Linked DNA regions of Homo sapiens: all the other regions are linked to region 7. The links are contacts of gene promoters, found by promoter capture Hi-C in blood cells and fetal thymus (Javierre and others, 2016). All regions are on one chromosome and are shown on one strand. The core of a region is centred on a gene start or on the middle of the fragment in contact, and the rest is flanking DNA. Distances in the headings are between cores, read along the strand shown. Region 1 holds the start of IGFBP7-AS1 (IGFBP7 antisense RNA 1). Region 2 overlaps CLOCK (clock circadian regulator). Region 3 overlaps POLR2B (RNA polymerase II subunit B). Region 4 has its middle 18 kb from the start of NOA1. Region 5 has its middle 2.5 kb from the start of TMEM165. Region 6 overlaps IGFBP7 (insulin like growth factor binding protein 7). Region 7 holds the start of AASDH (aminoadipate-semialdehyde dehydrogenase).

Region 1 (2,700 bases), core at 61-2,560, 720 kb after region 7:
AATGGAAAATGTTATTTCAGGCATTAGAGTTAAAATTTCTATGTGTGTGTGTATGTGCGTGTATTTGCAAGTCCAGACTTTATTTTCTTCTTTCTTTCTTTTTTTTTTGAGATGGGGTCTCTGTCTGTCACCCAGGCTGGAGTGCTGTCATGTGATCTCGGCTCACTGCAACCTCCGCCTCCCAGATTCAAGCGATTCTCCTGCCTCAGCCTCCTGAGTAGCTGTGATTACAGGCATGCACCACCATGCCCAGCTAATGTATATATATATATTTTTTATTAGAGATGGGGTTTCACCGTGTTGGTCAGGCTGATCTCGAACTCCTGACCTCGTGATCTGCCCATCTTGGCCTCCCAAAGTGCTGGGATTACAGACGTGAGCCAACCCACCCGGCCTATTTCCTTATTTCATTTACAGCAAGCTTGGACTTGTTTGGAATAAAATAAACAATCAAACATAATCTCAAAGACATTTCTGCTGAACAGTGTATCCTGGGGACAAATTATGCAAAACAATACAAATCAAAGAAATAGGAAGGAAAAACAAAATGGTCAGAAGGTTGACAACAAAGTGCATCACAAAAACAGTCTTCAAAGAGTTTGTATTTTATTTTTGCCCACAAATAATTAGCTAGTTAGATTACTGTTTGAGAACCTATAATTTTTAGAAAGTGGACTATTTTCTTCAATACTAAGAAATCAGGGCTGTGCACGGTGGTTTATGCCTGTAATCCCAGCAGGCCGGGATTACTTGAGCTCAGGAGTTCGAGACCAGCCTAGGCAACATAGTGAAACTCCGTCGCTATAAAACAAAACAAAACAAAACAAAAAACCAAAAATTGGCCAGGCGTGGTGGCACAGGCTTATAGTCCCAGCTACTTGGGAGGCTGAGGCAGGAGGATCGCTTGAGGCAGAGGTTGCAGTGGGCCAAGATCGTGCCACTGCCCTCCACCCTGGGCGACAGAGCAAGATCCTATCTTTTAAAAAAAAAAGTCTGTCTGGAAGTCCTTACTTTATATTTAATTGTCAAACTCCTTTCCCCCATCTCTTGACTTCACCTCTCTCTACATCCCCAAGCCAAGAATGATGAGAAATGGACAGATGTTAGCACGAGTTGGGTGCGCTTTGGGCATGGGGAAGTCTGAGGTCTCGGAAAATCTTTTCTACATATACACCCGGCCCTCACTTTCTGGACGCACGCAGCAAACTCTCAAAATAAAACCACCAAAAAGGAGAAGGGGGGGCGTCGCCCACCGCTCCTGGCATTCCGCGGCTGCCAACTCTTTCCCTCCCATCTGGCTCCTGGGATGCCCGCGGGGGAATCGCAGTGAGCAGCGCGGGGCGAGGCCGCCGCGGACGCCCCGTCGGATGTGCCCTTCGCTGGGCCGAGCGGCGCAGGGTTGGAGAGGGAAGCGCTCGTGCCCACCTTGCTCGCAGGTGCCCTTGCTGACCTGGGTGATGGCCTTCTCCCCGCGGCTCTCGGCCCTCTGGCTGGCGGCGCGCAGCTGGCAGCCGCTCGGGTAGGTGGTGCCGTCGCTGCCGCACACCGGGTAGCGGCTCTTGCACACGCACACGCCGCTTACACCCGGACCGCCGGCTGCTGCCCCGGCTTTACCCTTCCGCCTCTTGCGGCTCTTCACGCACTCCATGCCCGGCGCGCAGTACCCCCTGCCGGCGCCGCCACCCCCGCACGGCTCGCCCTCGCCGCGGGCGCACATAGGGCAGCAGCCGCACGCGTCGCGGGTCTCGCCCAGCAGGCAGCCCAGCGGGGGCAGGGGCGGGCAGGAGGCCGGCTCGCAGGGGCCGCAGGTGTCCGAAGAGGAGGAAGAGGAGAGGGGCAGGAGCAGGAGCAGCAGCCCAGCGGCGCCGAGGAGCAGGGCGCGCAGCGACGGCCGCTCCATGGCGGGGTGCGGTGGCAGCGGCAAGGGCGCGAGTGAGCCGTGTCGGGCCGGCCGGCGCCTTAAACCCGCCGCCCCGCCCGGCCTGTCCGCGGGAACCACACCCCGGGGCGGTGAGAGCACGGGGGCCCCGCCCGTGCCGCCCTCCCGGCCCCGCGGGGCCTGCGCGCGCGCTCCTGCTGGCGTCGGGGGGTGAGCGGGCACCCGGCGTGACCGGCCCATGGGCGCTCGGTCTCACGCCCGCTTCGCAGAGCTCACCCCGCCAGCTCCTGCTCGGTCCCCAGTCCCCTGCCCCGAGCCCTCAGGGATCGCACCGCAGTGCGAGCGGCTCTTCCACCCTCTGGTTTCTCCCCGTTTCCGGTCAATATATTTAAACTTCTTAACAACCACGGCTTCGAGACGATCCAGGGTTTCATCTATTAAATCCTCCGTGGGCCTGAGACACCTGAGTGCTCATTACTCTGTGGTTTGGGAAGCTCTCTTAAGAACAAGCTGTTAAAAACCCCCACTTGTGGACTGTGTCCCCGCTGGCCACAGGCCTGCTGTGGTCTTGGGTGTCAAGCACTAAAAGGACAAACCGTTGCCAACCACTTCCCTTTCTGGAACCTCTTAACTGCCTGCACCTCCCTCCCCGCTTTGTCTCCCAGTGGCATTCAACAAGACTCTGTGCTTTTTTTGTGCTGAGCCGTTTTCAGTGAGTACTGGAATCCGTGTGAGAGCTGTGCCCTTGTTTTGAGTTCTTGCTGAACTGCTCGCCCTCCAGCAAGCCTCTCGGGAGAACAGAGCGCAGCTGAGAGGAGCAG
Region 2 (2,700 bases), core at 47-2,546, 850 kb before region 7:
TCACAAGTGCATGCCACCATGTCTGGCTAATTTTTTTCTATTTTTTTGGAGAGCCAAAGGCCTCGCTATATTGCCACTACACTCCAACCTGGTCAATACAGAAAGACCTCTTTATCAGTATAAAAAAAAATTTTTTTGCTTCTTGATTATGGTGATTACAAGAATGTTTAGGTTTGTCAAAACTCAAGCTGCATACTTAAATTGGGCAGATTTTAACATATATACATTATACCCCAATAAAAATCAATTTTAAAAAATATACATCAAAAACTGAAACCCAACAACAAAATACCTAAAGAACACTACATAAAACAGCTCATAAATATTGAGTATTCTGCATACCTTTAAAAAATGACAGGCGCCAGCTAGAGTGGCTCATGCCTGTAATCCTAATAATTTGGAAGGTCAAAGCAGGAGGATCACTTGAGCCCAGGAGTTCAAGACAAGCCTGGGCAACAAAGTCACATCCTATCTCTGCAAAAATAAATGACAATAATAATAATAATAGGAAATTGTCTGCACTTAGGTAAAATGAACTAGTTTGAAGCAGGCCAATATTCTTGCTAAGAACAACTTAAAAAGCTAAATAAATTATAAAAATCATATTTTTAAAGTTAGTGAGGAGCTGTGGAAGCATGGGAAAGAAGGTCTAAAATTCCAGTGATGGGAGAATCTTTTTTTTTTTTTTTTTTTGAGATGGAGTCTTGTTGCTCTGTCACCCAGGCTGGAGTGCAGTGGCACAATCTTGGCTCACTGCAACCTCCACCTCAGAGATGGGGAGAATATTTTAAAGGTATTTAGATGACCAGTATCTGTCTTTTCCCTGGGAGTATTTCCTAATTATTGCTTGGGTTAGAGGCTGAAAATTGAGGCCTGACCTGTGTAAAATATTGTTGCTGAGGAACACAGAAGCCAGGACAGCTTTTGGTGTTCACACAGGGCTGGAATAACAACACTAGGAGACTAATTCTCCTAAAAAGTTTCACGCAAGGACCTCAAGCTTAAAGGTGGTATCTCCCCTCAGCATACTTGCTGAATTTTAAAACCGTGCAGGGTAAAAGGCTACAAAGTCAACTAAAAAACTTTGAAAAGCAAAGTGAAATTTCCTACCTTTGGCATTGCTAAAGGGACAAGACCAATAGGCTTTGAAATGAATGCCTTAGAAGACAACATCTGAAAAAACAAGGAAAAATAAGGATAGCAAACTATTAAAATAGCAACCCAGCCTCCACATAATTTAAGATGATGGGCTCCTGATATGGGTTGGATGCTTGTCCCCTCCAAATCTCATGATGAAATGTAAATGTAATTCCCAATGTTGGAAGTTGGGCCCAGTAGGAGGCAACTGGATCATGGGGGCAGATCCCTCATGAATGGTTTAGTACCATCTCCTCGGTAATAAGTGAGTTCACACAAGATCTGGTTGTTGAAAAGTCTGGGACCTGCCCCACCTTGCTCTCTTGCTCCCACTCTTGCCTTGTCATGCACCTGCTCTCCCTTCACTTTCAGCCATGACTAGAAACTTACTAAGCCTCACTATAAGCAGATGCCGGCACCATGCTTCCTATACACTTTGGAGAACCGTAAGCCAATTAAGCTTCTTTTCTTTATAAATTACCCAGTCTCACGTATTCTTTTATAGTAATGCAAACAGACTAATACAGCTCCCTAGCCTATCTGCATAGAAAATGAACTTCCCCTTCCCCCACCCCTCTCCCAACCCGGCAAAATGTACCATTACCTGGTAATGCTTACTTAAGTTTTTTACTACACAATGCCTGGCATTCAATAAAAAATTATGAGACATAAACAAAACAATCAACAGACTTGACCTAACTGACATTTGTAAAACACTCCACCTAACAACAAAACACACATTCTTTTCAACTGCACATGAAGAACACTTACAATGATAGAATATATTCTAGGCCATAAAATAAATCCGAATAAATTTAAAATTATCTCATTACAATGGAATTAAATTAAAAATAACAATGATCTCTGGAAAATCCTCAAATATTTGAAAACTATATAACACACTTATAAATAAACTATAGACCCAGTAAGACATCAGGAAAGAAATTATAAAGTACTCTGAATGGAATGAAAATGGAAACATATCAAAAACTGGAAACGGCCAGGAGTGGAGGCTCACATCTGTATCCCAGCACTCCAGGAGGCCAAGGAAAGAGGATTGCTTGAACTGAGTTCAAGACCAACATGGGCAACACAGTGACATCCTTGTCTTCAGAAAAAATTGTAATAAACTCTGGCCAGGTGTGGTGGCTTACACCTGTAATCCTAGCACTTTGGGAGGCTGAGGCAAGTGGATTGCCTGAGCTCAGGAGTTGACGACCAGCCTGGGCAACATAGTGAAACCCTATCTCTACAAAAAATACAAAAATTAGCCAGGCATGATGGCACGCGCCTGTAATCCCAGCACTTAATAGACTCTGGTGCGAGGATCTCTTGAGCCTGAGACGTCGACACTGTGGTGACCCCGTGATTGGGCCACTGCACTAAAGCCTAGGCAACGGAGTGAGACCCAGTCTCAAAAAAATAAAAATAAAAATAAAAAATTAGCCAGGCATGGTGGCACATGCCTGCAGTCCCAGCTACTCAGGAGGCTGAGGTGGGAGGATCACTTGAGCCTGAGAGGTCAAGGCTGCAATGGGCCATGATCACGATACTGTACTGCCT
Region 3 (2,700 bases), core at 22-2,521, 620 kb after region 7:
AATACTTGGTTTATTTTTTAGGGCCATGCTGTAGGACTTGTGAAGAATTTAGCCTTGATGGCGTATATTTCAGTTGGATCTCAACCATCTCCAATTCTGGAATTTTTAGAAGAATGGAGTATGGAAAATTTAGAAGAAATTTCTCCTGCAGCTATTGCTGAGTGTGTATAGATGGAATTAGTTTTTTAAACTATAGTTAATCTTTAGTTGTTGCTTAGTATAGAATTGTTAAGTGTAAAATGCTTTTGCTTTTTCATTGTAGTGCAACCAAGATTTTTGTTAATGGCTGCTGGGTTGGAATACATAAAGATCCCGAACAACTTATGAACACCCTAAGGAAATTGAGACGTCAGATGGACATCATTGTGTCTGAAGTAAGAATCTTTAGTTAAGAGGGTGTGGACTGTGAGATTTTTAAACAAGGCATAGGACTAGTGAAAGTTATCTTTGCATTGGCATCTTTTCTTTGAACTTTATTCCCTTGAACTGTAAAGTGTAAATTTAATTATAAGTTATTGCTAGGCCGGGTGCAGTGGCTCATGCCTGTAATCCCAGCACTTTGGGAGGCCGAGGCGCAGATCACCTGAGGTCAGGAGTTCAAGCGCAGCCTGGCCAATATGGCGAAACCCCATCTCTACTAAAAATACAACAATTAGCCAGGCACGGTGGCATGGGCCTGTAATCGCAGCTACTCGGGAGGCTGAGACAGGAGAATCACTTGAACCCGGGAGGCGGGGGTTATGGTGAGGTGAGATTGCACCTCTGCACTCCAGCCTGGGTGACAGAGTGGGTCTCTGTCTCAAAAAATAAAAAAAAGCCTGGGCATGGTGGCTCACGCCTGTAATCCCAGCACTTTGGGAGGCTAAGGCAGGCGGATCACAAGGTCAAGAGATTGAGACCATCCTGGCCAACATGGTGAAACCCTGTCTCTACTAAAAATACAAAAATTAGCTGGGCGTGGTGGCGCGCGCCTGTAGTCCCAGCTACTCAGGAAGCTGAAGCAGGAGAATTGCTTGAACCCAGGAGGCGGAGGTTGCAGTGAGCCAAGATCACACCACTGCACTCCAGCCTGGCGACAGAGCGAGACTCCATCTCAAAAAAAGAAGTTATTGCTTGCCTTAATCTTTCGATGCATGCTTCCAAAAATTTTGGCACATTTTAAATTATTAAATTATATTTTAGAACTCAAATTACATTTTAAAGTAAAAATTCTTTTGGGAATCTTTTTATAAAGCTGAGAATACTTTTTAAAAGGGAATAACCATCTGGGATTTATCCTTTGAATCCAGAGATTCATTAATAAAATGTGATATACCACTAATAGATTCTTTTATATTTTGGAGGATATTGAAGTGCTTTGGGATTAGGATGGGTTTTAAAAAAATCATTACAATAAGGCCGGGCCTGGTGGCTCATGCCTGTAATCCCAGCACTTTGGGAAGTTGAGGCAGGCGGATCACTTGAGGTCAGGAGTTTGAGACCAGCCTGGCCAACATGGCAAAACCCTGTCTCTACTAAAAATAAAAAAATCAGCTGGGCATGGTAGCATGTGCCTGTAGTCCCAGCTACTCGGGAAGCTGAGGCATGAGAATTGCTTAAATCCGGGAGGCAGAGGTTGCAATGAGCAGAGATTGCACCATTGTACTCCAGCCTGGGTGACAGAGTGAGACTCTGTCTCCAAAAATTTATTAAAAAAAAAAAAAATCATTACAATATATTGTGAACTTTATTACTCTCCCAAGTAAGGGTTTTAGTATACTGTTTGCGGAATGTAGTTCAGGCTTTTAATTTTCCCAAATCTATACCTTGGGTGAAAGTGGTTTTTGAGAGAAACTGAACACGCTTAGCCAGTAGCTGGTCTTTGTACCTAAAACAGCAGAGAAGAGAGTTTGGTTGTTCTGGGCCTTTTCCAGCAGCAGACCCTGAGTGTTTTTTTGTTATTGTTGTTGGGGGGCAGGGACAGAGTCTGGCTTTGTTGCCCAGGCTGGAGTAGAGTGTTGCTATCTTAGCTCACTGCAACCTCTGTCTCCCAGGTTCAAGAAATTCTCATGCCTCAGCCTCCTGAGTAGCTGGGATTACAGATGTGTACCACCATGCCCGGCTAATTTTTGTATTTCTATTTTTATTTTTTTGAGGTGGAGTCTCACTCTCTTGCTCAGGCTGGAGTGCAGTGGCATGATCTCGGCTCACTGCAACGTCTGCCTCCCGGGTTCAAGCAATTCTCCTGCTTCAGCCTCCTGAGTAGCTGGGATTACAGGTGCCTGCCACCATGCCTGGCTAATTTTTGTATTTTTAGTAGAGACTGGGTTTCTCCATGTTGGCCAGCCTGGTCTCGAACTCCTGACCTCAGGTGATCCACCTGCCTCAGCCTCCCAAAGTGCTGGGATTATAGACGTGAGCCACTGCACCTGGCCAATTTTTGTATTTTTGGTAGAGATGGGGTTTTGCCATAGTTGGCCAGGCTGGTCTTGAAGTCCTGGGCTCAAGCCATCTGCCTGCCTTGGCCTTCCAAAGTACTGGGATAACAGGTGTGAGCCACTGAGCCCAGCCTGGCCCTGGGTTTTGACCCAGGCTTATTTACAGCTTGAAGTCAGGAAGAGAGTGATTCACTTGAGGGCAGGCAAGGCTAAGAGAAAGCTCAAAAAAATGTCTCTCTCTGTCTCTCTATCTCTCTATCTCTGTATTTTTTAATAGAGAGAT
Region 4 (2,700 bases), core at 14-2,513, 570 kb after region 7:
ATTTATGGTGATTAAAGATACAAAACATATTACAACTTTAATTTGTCTTAGTAACTTTGAAGAAGATGTTGTTATTTTAGTTTAATTAGAGGGGGGAAAAGCAGAGGGATTACGTGTAACTTTTTAAAATAAAACTTTGAACCTAATATCACATAAAAGTCAAAAAGTACTTTGATGGAATTTATTTTACTTCTTTTGGGTGTCATGAATACAAAAGAGGTGACATGCTCAACACCACAGTGCTGCAGAGCCAGGTAAACAATCTAGAATAAACTTGCTTCATTGTTTTCTAGCAACCCCTAACCACCTCTGTGATCTGTGGAAGTGAGGAGTTGGTACTTTGCCCTTAATTTCTCCTCCCGTTCCTGGCCAGAAGAGCCCACTAATTCTTGTACCCTGTCATAGTGTAAGTGACTACTGATTCAAAAGATGTCGTTATATTCAGATTAATGGATAAAGAAGTACAGTCATGTATCGCATAATGACTTCTTGGTCAGCAATGGGCCACATATACAGCCGTAGTCTGGTAAAATTATAATGGAGTCAGAAAATACCTATTGCCTAATGATTTGTGTTACAATTGCCTACAGAATTCAGTACAGCAACATGTTGTACAGGTTTGTAGCCTAGGAGCCATAGGCTATACCATACAGCCTAGGTGTAGAGTAGGCTATACCATCTAGGTTTGTGTAAATACACTTTATGATGTTTGTCCAAAGATGAAATTGCCTAACGATGCATTTCTTAGAACACATCCCTGTTGCTAAGCAATGCACTACTGCACCAATACAGTAATGGAACTTTCTTAAAGGAAAATCTACTAGGAAACACTTGATCCTAGCAGTGATCCTAGGCTGCATTAAATTGGAGGCACAATATGGAATAAATTAATACCAGATCCCAGTAGAAGTCCTCAACTAATTCTAGGCATAGAGCATCTTTCTCACTCTTTTTGCTGGCTTTCTTTCCTGCTTTTTTTTTTTTTGAGATGGAGTCTTGCTCTGTCACCCAGGCTGGAGTGCAGTGGTGCAATCATGGCTTACTGCAGCCTCAACCTCCCAGGCTCAAGGGATCTTCCCACCTCAGCCTCCTGAATAGCTGAGACTACAGGTGGGTGTCACCATGCCCAGCTAAATTAAATTTTTTTTTTTGTAGAGACAGGGTCTTAACTATGTTGCCAGGGCTGGTCTTGAATGCCTGGCTTCAAGGGATCCTCCTGCCTTGGCCTCCCAAAGTGTTTGGATTATGGGTGTGAGCCCTGTTTTCTGAAATACATTTTCTTAAGTTGTCAGGGTGATAGTAGTCAGTTTTTAGATTGTTTCTCCACAAAGGCCCAGTTCACCCTTTGCTGGCTTTCTTTCCTGCCTGTTTTTTGTTTTAATTCTACCTAAATATCCTGGCCTAAGCTCTGAACTGTGAACTCCTGTTTTCAACCATAGGTAGAAATATAATGACCATAATTTTTTTTTTTTTTTTTGAGATGGAGTTTTGCTCTTGTGCCCAGGCTGGAGTGCAATGGCACGGTCTTAGCTCATCGCAACCTCTGCCTCCCGGGTTCAAGCGATTCTCCTGCCTCAGCCTCCCAAGTAGCTGGGATTACAGGCATGTGCCACCACACCTGGCTAATTTTGTATTTTTTTTTTAGTAGAGATGGGGTTTCTCCATGTTGGTCAGGCTGCTCTCGAACTCCCGACCTCAGGTGATCCACCCACCTTGGCCTCCCAAAGTGTTGGATTACAGGTGTGAGCCACCGCACCCAGACACAATTTTAACTTATAAAATAAATGGTATTTCATTCCCTCCAAAATAAAAACTAGAAATCAACTGCCAATCAATTTTCTCCATTTGGGAAGCTGCCGCCCTCTAGAGGTAATATGATGTTGGGGGCACTTTCCAGTTGTCACCAGGACTGACAGCAGAGGGAGTTGCTACTGCATTTAGTGTCTGGGATGAGAGATACCAGACATAATGAAATGCAGTTTTTTTGTTTTTTTTTGAGACGGAGTCTTGCTCTGTTGCCCAGGCTGGACTGCAGTGGCGCGATCTTGGCTCACTGCAGCTTCCGCCTACCAGGTTCCAGGGATTTTCCTGCCCCAGTCTCCGGAGTAGCTGGGACTACAGGCACGCGCCAGCGCAGTCAGCTAATTTTTGTATTTTTAGTAGAGACGGGGTTTCACCTTGTTGGCCAGGATGGTCTCAATCTCCTGATCTCATGATCCGCCCGCCTCGGTCTTCCAAAGTGCTGGGATTACAGGCGTGAGCCACCGCGCCCGGCTGAAATGCAGTTTTATATATAAAGAAAGAACCACCTTGCCCAAGATACCAGTAGTACTCACTTTGAAACACTATGAAAGGTCTACAACAAGTTGCATCATCTTAAAAAATTCTCCATTATATTTAATCTAAGAGGACTTAGAAGAGGACTGAGGAGTGGGGAGAAGACAGGAGAGTGTGAAATACATGGGGGCTCCCATATGTTGGGACAGAACATGGTCCTCTCAGGAATTTCATGGCTCTAACTGCGTTTCAGCCTAGCTTATCTTACCAGCATTTATTTCAACATTAGGATCTGGGACTTGACTTGCCAATTCTTCATGACACAGCTGTGGTACTACTTACTCAGCTAGGAATAACAAAAGGTGTAGACTTTTTCTTTTTTCCTTTTTTCAGACAGGGTCTCGCTCTGTTGCCCAGGCTGGA
Region 5 (2,700 bases), core at 32-2,531, 990 kb before region 7:
TCCTTGACCTAAGTCTCAGATTTCTCATTTGCAAAAAGGAGGATAGAAATAATTCATGTAACACACTTAGTGCTCTGACTGGATCAGAATAGCATTCAATAAAGTTTTACTACTACTTTAATGATAACTATTCCCATTACCTTCTTATATAATCTACTAGGTGCTAGAAATATAAAGATAAAAGGCATAACCTTACCATCTAGAAGCTTAAGGCTTAGTAAGGGTGTTGGAATAAAAGACATTAAAATACAGTGCAGGCCCGGCTCAGTGGCTCACACCTGCAATCCCAGCACTTTGGGAGGCCGAGGTGGATGGATTACTTGAGGTCAGGAGTTCGAGACCTGCCTTGCTAACATGGTGAAACCCTGTCTCTACTAAAAATACAAAAATTAGCCAGGCATGGTGGCGGGCGCCTATAGTCCCAGCTACTTTGGAGGCTGCGGCAGGAGAATCGCTTGAACCTGGGAGGTAGAGGTTGCAGTGAGCTGAGATCGCACCACTGCACTCCAGCCTGGGTGACAGAGCGAGACTCCATCTCTACATAAATAAATAAAAAATAAAATATAGGTCAGGCACAGTGGCTCATGCCTATAATCCCAGCACTTTTGGGAGGCCAAGGCGGACGGATCACGAGGTCAGGAGATCAAGACCATCCTGGCTAACATGGTAAACCCGTCTCTACTAAAAATACAAAAAATTAGTGGGGCGTGTAGCACATGCCTGTAATCCCAGCTACTCAGGAGGCTGAGGCAGGAGAATTGCTTGAACCCGGGAGGCGGAGGCTGCAGTGAGCCGAGATCTTGCCACTGCATTCCAGCCTGGGCAACAGAGCGAGACTCCACCTCAAAAATAAATAAATAAATTAATTAAATAAAATACAATGTAATGCACATGTAGTAGGGTTTCTTTCCATAGGATGCCTGACAGTGGTTACATTTTAGTAAGACTATATCGGTGTAGGCTATGATTAAAAAATATATCATCTTGGAATTGTTGCGCCACCCACATCCTTATTGGGTAGGGGGTTAAATAAGTAGCTTCAGTTGTCCTTCAAGAAAGGTATCAGGAAAGCTCCTATAGTTTTTTAATTGCTTTTTTTAAGGGAGTTAGTCACCAATGAGGACTAGAAGGATGATGGCTCTAAACCCTCAAGGTGGTGAAAACTGGAGCCAGCCTCGATTTAGCACGCCTGAGCACGGATCCCAGGAGGTAGATGTGTGTGGAAACAGAAATACCAGATCCCATGAGAATCAGACACCTAGAGCCTAGCCTGGCAGCACCTGAAGGCCCTTGGATCAGGGTGACACTGGGGCAGGCTAGAAAGGTCTCACTCTGGCCCAGATTCTGATGCTTTGCTGACACCACTGTGCCAGTTCGCCAATGCTCTATCTCCATTTATGTTACATCTTCTGCCAAATAGCTTTGCTGCCTTGCCCCTGAACCACTGCATGCTCAGCAGCTGGTGCTTCAGCATCCTGCAGCTGTAGCCCAGAAGTCCTCACTGCCTCATATGTTGAGATGACTGAATTTGGCCAGGAGTCCTTCCTGTGAGAAAGCCCTGGAGTGTGGGCAGCCCATCCTAGAAAATAAACAAAGCAGCTTTCAGCAATGAGGGACACACAGCCAGTTTTGCTACATTCACCCTTCTGGCTCTGTCTTCAGCCTAAGCTGCTCCTTTCAGGTCCCTCCCTTGGGACCTCAAGCCTCCCTTTCAGGCCCCTTTTAAGCACAGCAAATCCTGTATGCATTAAGGGGAGGTAGTTGAAGTTTGGGCTTCTGGGTTTTATGTTATTACTGGCTTCTGAAAGCTCAAACATTTGCACTCCAGGGATGATAGTTGCATCTGTTAAATTTAGTGTAAAGCTGCCTCCTTACATATTTTAAGTTAGGCCTAAAGGTTTCCCCATACATGGTGAACTGTAGCCTAATTGGGTATGTAAACAGACTGTAACCTATTCTTGTACCAATCACAGAGTTCTGGCCAATCACAAGTGGCCAACTGTTCAAACCGTGTTCAAATAGGGCAAACCTGAGCTACAACCAATCCAGCTGTTTCTGTCCCTCAATTATGTTTTCTGTAAGTCACTTTATTTTTTCCGACCACTCGGCAAGACTGGAGCCTCTCTGAACTTACTTTGATTTGGGGTCTTTTTGATTTGCAGATCATTCTTTGGGTTCTTTGCTTGATTAAACGCTGTTAAGTTTAATTTGTCTAAGGTTTTTCTTTTAACACACCCCAAACTGTAAGTGGAGGCATCCTACTTACACAGTAATAGAAGAATGCATAAAGCAATAACATGAAGGAACAAGTGACAAATTCTGTAACGCCATGTGTTGGGGAAAAGTTCTGAGAGTGGAAGCTTGAATAGGTTTTGGAAGTATGAGTAGGAGTTTACAAGGAGAGAATGGAAGAAGGGGAATTACGGACAGAATAACATGGACGGAGGCCGGCCGCGGTGGCTCACACCTGTAATCCCAGCACTTTGAGAGGACGAGGCCGGCAGATCACCTGAGGTCTGGAGTTCGAGACCAGCCTGACCAACATGGAGAAACCCCATCTCTACTAAAATTACAAAGTTAGCCGCGTATGGTGGAGCATGCCTGTAATCCCAGCTACTCGGGAAGCTGAGGCAGGAGAATCTCTTGTACCCGGGAGGAGGAGGTTGCAGTGGGCCGAGATCTCACCATTGCACTCCATCC
Region 6 (2,700 bases), core at 72-2,571, 670 kb after region 7:
ATCTCAGGCTTTTAGTTTAAGGCAAATTCATCTAGTTATGGAAGCTACTGTTAGTCATTTCCACTTTAGTGTGAATGAAGAACCAATAGTTTATAATAATGGGACCCTGCCAAACACTGTTTAGGGCAAAAGTGTGTAAGAACTGCTTCCTCTTCTCTAAATATAATCTGTTGGGGTGGTGTTGGGGAGGCTTAGCGCATTAAGAGTAAGAACAAAATGCTGGGAGGTAATAGACTATAGTGACTTTGGAGCGTGGACTTGGAATCAGGAATTCTGCTCTACCACTCCTGAGTTATGCAACATTGCACAAGTTATTTCACTTCCCCTGCTTTATTCATCTGTGAAATGGAATGATAGTATCCCAGTCATTAGACCATCAAAAGGATCAAACAAGATACAGCCATTAGCACAGTACCTGGCATGGGGTAAACATTCAGTAAGTATGAGCTGTTGCTTTTCATTTCAGAAATTAGACTTTCATCAAGGAAGGTGAAAGACAGGGACCTGCCTGAGGAGAGGCAGGAAAACGCTGGCCTGCCTTGAATAGTGAGCATGCGGGCCAGCTCGGGAAGAGGATTCGTGTGTGGTGTAGGGCACAGCAGAAAGCAGATGAGGTGGGGCCTCACCCTCCAATGTGTCTCTGAAAGTGGGAGTGTCATGATTCAAGTGGCATTTCCCAAGATGATTTTGGAGGTCTCCGCATCAGGATGGGACATGGCGGGGATTAAGGCTCTAACTCAAGGTCGCAGCAATGAGAAGACAGAGAAAAGGGGAAGACTTGGGGGATTATTCAGGAAGAACTAACACTACCCAGTAACTGACTGGATGTAGGAAAGAGAGGCATGATTTAAAGGCTGTGAGCCTCAAAGGTTCCAGGAGGCTGCCGCACCATGAACAGAAGCAGGGGTGTCAGTCTGAGGAAGGTGCTGGATTGAAGAAGGGGAAAGGGTGGACTTGGGTTTAAATTTGCTGAATTTCAGGTATCACCTGGGCCATGAGGAGGCACTGAACCCCAGTGGGGAGACCAGAAGTGCCAAGGCAAGCACTGTCTAGCTGACATTTTAGCCCTGGGAAGGCTATGTGGGGTCCTTTGGGTGGAAGGAAGACAGATTTGGCACTCCCTCTCACTAGTTTCTCCAGAGGGAGTTCCATCAGCTCACTGCTGACCACCTGGCCCGTCCCCACCCCACCCCAGGTAAAGCAGATAAGTGAATAGCACGGCCTTGCTTAGCTTCCAGGCACGTATTTGCAGGGCCAGTCCATCTAAGAGCAGACCATTCAATACAATGCTGCCCTGGTGACCGCGTGCCCAGGTCTTGTGAGTTGAGTTCCTGGCTGATTGCTAGTTACCTCTGGATTAATAAGACACCTCGTTTTGGGTCCAATCTTTGATGCTGAGAATCTTCGTAGGGAGCATGAAGTCTGTTTTTCTCAAGTGGACATAGTACTCAAATATCTCACTACGATGACTGTCAATCTTGTGATATCTCACAATTATCACTGTAATTTTGAATTGACCACAGAACATGCACAGAAAGTTGCTTCTTGCAATGTGTTGGTTGCTTGCAAACAAATCTCTTATTTGATGATGCTTTCTTTTCTATCTTTTTTTTTTTTTTTGAAATGAAGTCTTACTCTGTCGCCCAGGCTGGAGTGCAGTGGTACAATCTCGGCTCACTGCAGCCCCTGCCTCCCAGGTTCAAGCAGTTCTCCTGCCTCAGCCTCCAGAGTAGCTGATACTACAGGCACACACCATCACACCTGGCTAATTTTTGTAATTTTAGCAGTGATGGAGTTTCACCATGTTGATCAGGCTGATCTCGAACTCCTGACCTCAGGTGATCTGCCCGCTTCGGGCTCCCAGGGTGCTGGGATTATAGGCGTGAGCCACCGCACCTGGCCCTTGATGATGTTTTCTTATTCTTGTCCCCTTCCTTGTATGGGTCTAGCATTAAAAAAAAGTGGGGTACTGACAAAGAGTCTGACTCCAGGGTGTGGTTCTTGCCCATGGTGGTTCTGGTACATGTGGTCTGGTGTCATTCTTGAAGGGACCCTGCTACTGCCATGAAGCAAATCCATGAAGGACTTGAAACCATGTTCAGGTGTGCAAGATGGTGAGCTCGCTCTGGTAACCATGTGATAGATGAGGTAACATGGGGCTGTGCCAACAACATTGCCCAGGGATGAGCTAACGTATTCAGCAGAGCTCCCCTAGGAAGCTGGAATACCTACACTATCATCCTAATACCAGACTGGCTGAGGTCCACACAAGTTGAATCAGCAGGCTAGGTTTTGAATTGGTTTGAGGACCTGGAAGAACTGACTTTATAGAGAGTGCTTTCCCGAGACGAAACTCCCTAGTGATGTTAACATAGCCTTGGAAACACATTTTTTCCACATCTCATGGGCCTGTCCTGTCTGGACTATGACTCACCTTAAATACAAGATATTAAATGTTTTTGCTAGCGCTTTCTTATTCTGCAAGCACTGAATTGGGTGGGAAGTTCCCATAGGAAACTTATTGCTAACCACGTGGATGGTCACACCTGATTCTGGGATTCCTAGAAGCCTAGATAGTGAGTTTCCCTAGGAAATTTCTCCTTCTTTTCTTGGGATGAGATCTTGTTACATTGCCCAGGTTGGTCTTGGACTCCCAGGAGTCCAAGCTCAAGCCATCCTCCTGCCTCAGCCTCCTGAGTG
Region 7 (2,700 bases), core at 169-2,668:
TTTGAAAATGCTGTGATTTCTAAATATACAGTTTAAACATATAAGGCAACTTTAGTACTTACATTATTTATTTTTAGTAGGCATTTCTATAAATATTAGCTCTTTTTAATGCACAAGATACAATTTTAAGCTTTCCTCAGACATACAATGATCATTATGTAAATATAAGGGAGGCTTTCTGCAGCAGGCGCTTAAATTATGAGGAATGAGTTCATTTCGCAACATACAGGTAGCGCAGAAGGGTACCTACACATCTATACGATAATTAAGATGTTTCTTTCCATTTTCCCAATGGTTGCTACAGACATTTAAGGTAAAATCCATTCTTCTTGTCTCAGGTTTTCATTTTCATTCATTGAATCACAAATAACATTCTCTGCAGTAGAGAATACTAAACTTATTAATGCCCAAATGTTTGAGACCTTAAAAAGGAAAAAAAGGCCGGGCGCGGTGGCTCACGCCTGTAATCCCAGCACTTTGGGAGGCCGAGGCGGGTGGATCATGAGGTCAGGAGATCGAGACCATCCTGGCTAACAAGGTGAAACCCCGTCTCTACTAAAAATACAAAAAATTAGCCGGGCGCGGTGGCGGGCGCCTGTAGTCCCAGCTACTCGGGAGGCTGAGGCAGGAGAATGGCGTCAACCCGGGAAGCGGAGCTTGCAGTGAGCCGAGATTGCGCCACTGCAGTCCGCAGTCCGGCCTGGGCGACAGAGCGAGACTCCGTCTCAAAAAAAAAAAAAAAAAAAAAAAGGAAAAAAAAAAGCAAACTCTGGTAAGCAGATTTTACATGTAAAAGGAATAAATTTACTTGCTACAACTGTAGAAGCTGCTATTTAGTCAACAAAGATCTTAAGAGTGTCAGCAAATTCAATTGCTATGGGGCCTCTCTCTAGGCCACTGGCTGTTTTAAAAATGGATAAATAATCTAGAAACTTTATTTTCCCAATTCCCCGGCTTCTAAATTTACGGTATGCAACGAGTAACAATGCAATTTACAGCTTCCTAAACATTTCTTCATTGCTCTTCGAAACCACTCTAGGGGGTAGCTGAGCGCGGAGCACACTTATTTCCATTTGAATGGAGGGGCGGAGGCTAGTGACGCAGGAGTGTACACACAGGTCAGGGTTAGTCTGCACCACACCAGCACGCCAGACCCCGATGTATCAAATCCGAGGTCAGGCAGTGGTCCTGAAGCTGAGCAAATGTATGTGGAAGCAGGCTCAGGCCTAGCGGCACTTCGCCTCCTTCACACAGACCCCCGCCGGACACCGCGCCCTGCCGCGACTCACTTAGCAAGTCTCGCGGATTAGGTTTGATCGCATTCGGCCCTTTCCCGGATAGCTCGTCGCGGATACTTCTCACAGCGAAGCAGCAGCTCCCAGAAGCCGTAAAGCTATCCCAGAGCGAGGCACCATACGTAAATCTTCCGCGTCGCTACGTGACGTCAGTGCGAGCGACCCCGGGCCGGCTGCGTGGAGCTGGCGCTGCCTCTCCTGAAGCCGAGGCGCTAACTTGAGTGAAGAGGTCTATAGGCTTTTTCACTTTTGGTTATCTGCTCAGGCGCTCCTTGGGGTCGCGCATGGTCTCGGACAGGGTTTGCAAGGACTTCGGAGCTAACCAGTTTGGAGCCATAACCCTTTCGTACTTGCCAAAAAACTCTGGGCAAGACTCTTGAATTTTGAGCCGCAGTATTCTCGTTCATAAGGTGAGAATAAAAACATCACCTAGGGTTGATGTGAAGAGAGATGAAATCATTGTGAAATAGGAGAGTTATTGCTTTCAACCAATGACATTTTCTGGAAACGTGCTGGAGATATGGCTGCAGCAGTGACGCCTGCAAACGACGTTCCTGTCATCATGATGCTGACATTTTAATTGGGAAGCAGATTGAAACGATAACTAAGGAATTTGACAGGAGCATTTAGTAGGACCTGTAAAGAAATTAAAGCAGGTCCGAGGTGGAGTTTTGTAAACTATATGCCTGAATAGAACTTTCTGTTTCCAAGGGAATTGTTACAGTTGGAGACATGTCAATTATTACAATAAGCGTCAAGGGCAATAACAGAGGTGTTTTAAAGCTACTGTCTGGTGGCAGAATAATCGGGATTTTTTTGTTTGGGGGGTTTTAGCCGGGGGAGGGACTGCGAAGACAGCTCTGCATCAAAACAGTACGTGAGAAAAAAGCATAGGACGCTCTCGCAGCCGTAGTTGTTGGTGACAAGAAACTGTGCTTCTAATCTAAGCAAAAAATATCTCCACATGCCAACTATACTTTTCCAAGATGTACCATGGACTACTCAAACTAACACAGCCTTATTTATGTATTTAGGTTGGAAGTGGGCAAAAGTGTATCTTGTCTATGTTTCTATGTTTCTACGTTGGGATGACACCATCATCCACCCAGCCAGACAGTTATCAACCTTCCCACTTTCTTAACCTCTTACATCCGATTAGACCCTATGTCCTCTAGTTCTCAGTCTTGAGACCAGCACCCAGCTGGCTACATCAGAATTGCCGGTGGTGATGTTTTAGAAGATTCCAAATTCCTGGACTCCATCCCCGGAGGTTCATCCCCTAGTTTTCTAGTGAGGGGCCTAGAACCTGCGTTTTTTAAGTGTCATGTTCATCGCCATTACTGCTACTTTAGTTCAGGTCTTCTTGGTCAGCTTTTTCCTAAAACGTTTTCAGTTTTGTTTGCCT

The links. Contacts are between HindIII fragments. The CHiCAGO score rates a contact against its expected background, and 5 or more counts as called.
Region 1: the fragment with the promoter of IGFBP7-AS1 here is called in contact with the fragment with the promoter of AASDH in region 7 in 1 of 17 cell types (monocytes); the score reaches 8.9 in monocytes.
Region 2: a fragment that was not itself captured here is called in contact with the fragment with the promoter of AASDH in region 7 in 2 of 17 cell types (total CD8 T cells and total B cells); the score reaches 6.3 in total CD8 T cells.
Region 3: a contact is called between a fragment that was not itself captured here and the fragment with the promoter of AASDH in region 7, in 1 of 17 cell types (naive CD8 T cells). The highest score is 5.7, in naive CD8 T cells.
Region 4: a fragment that was not itself captured here is called in contact with the fragment with the promoter of AASDH in region 7 in 10 of 17 cell types (naive CD4 T cells, naive CD8 T cells, total CD4 T cells and 7 more); the score reaches 9.8 in naive CD4 T cells.
Region 5: a contact is called between a fragment that was not itself captured here and the fragment with the promoter of AASDH in region 7, in 1 of 17 cell types (naive B cells). The highest score is 5.4, in naive B cells.
Region 6: a fragment that was not itself captured here is called in contact with the fragment with the promoter of AASDH in region 7 in 1 of 17 cell types (monocytes); the score reaches 5.9 in monocytes.

What each region holds. Positions count from the first base shown.
Region 1 is chr4:57,108,452-57,111,151 of GRCh38, forward strand. IGFBP7-AS1 (IGFBP7 antisense RNA 1) reads left to right here and starts at 1,311. Exons shown (of 5, transcript NR_034081.1): 1 at 1,311-1,519. IGFBP7 (insulin like growth factor binding protein 7) reads right to left here and starts at 1,934. Exons shown (of 5, transcript NM_001553.3): 1 at 1,426-1,934. The coding sequence starts at 1,900. RefSeq lists a silencer at 2,003-2,072. The HindIII fragment of the contact is 3,416 bases long and covers 420-2,700 here.
Region 2 is chr4:55,535,066-55,537,765 of GRCh38, forward strand. All of the region lies in intron 1 of CLOCK (clock circadian regulator), which reads right to left. Among named protein-coding and RNA genes, the nearest start is that of CLOCK, 10 kb to the right of the region's middle. The HindIII fragment of the contact is 597 bases long and covers 999-1,595 here.
Region 3 is chr4:57,010,727-57,013,426 of GRCh38, forward strand. It overlaps POLR2B (RNA polymerase II subunit B), which reads left to right. Exons shown (of 25, transcript NM_000938.3): 12 at 22-161; 13 at 263-374. Among named protein-coding and RNA genes, the nearest start is that of POLR2B, 33 kb to the left of the region's middle. The HindIII fragment of the contact is 8,493 bases long and covers 1-2,700 here.
Region 4 is chr4:56,958,556-56,961,255 of GRCh38, forward strand. No RefSeq gene overlaps it. Among named protein-coding and RNA genes, the nearest start is that of NOA1, 18 kb to the right of the region's middle. The HindIII fragment of the contact is 9,798 bases long and covers 1-2,700 here.
Region 5 is chr4:55,392,137-55,394,836 of GRCh38, forward strand. No RefSeq gene overlaps it. Among named protein-coding and RNA genes, the nearest start is that of TMEM165, 2.5 kb to the right of the region's middle. The HindIII fragment of the contact is 2,154 bases long and covers 205-2,358 here.
Region 6 is chr4:57,051,415-57,054,114 of GRCh38, forward strand. The region is part of intron 1 of IGFBP7 (insulin like growth factor binding protein 7); the gene reads right to left. Among named protein-coding and RNA genes, the nearest start is that of IGFBP7-AS1, 57 kb to the right of the region's middle. The HindIII fragment of the contact is 3,080 bases long and covers 1-2,700 here.
Region 7 is chr4:56,386,073-56,388,772 of GRCh38, forward strand. It overlaps AASDH (aminoadipate-semialdehyde dehydrogenase), which reads right to left and starts at 1,419. Exons shown (of 15, transcript NM_181806.4): 1 at 1,290-1,419. RefSeq lists enhancers at 837-1,344, 1,314-1,683, 1,345-1,851, 1,714-1,763. The HindIII fragment of the contact is 3,410 bases long and covers 129-2,700 here.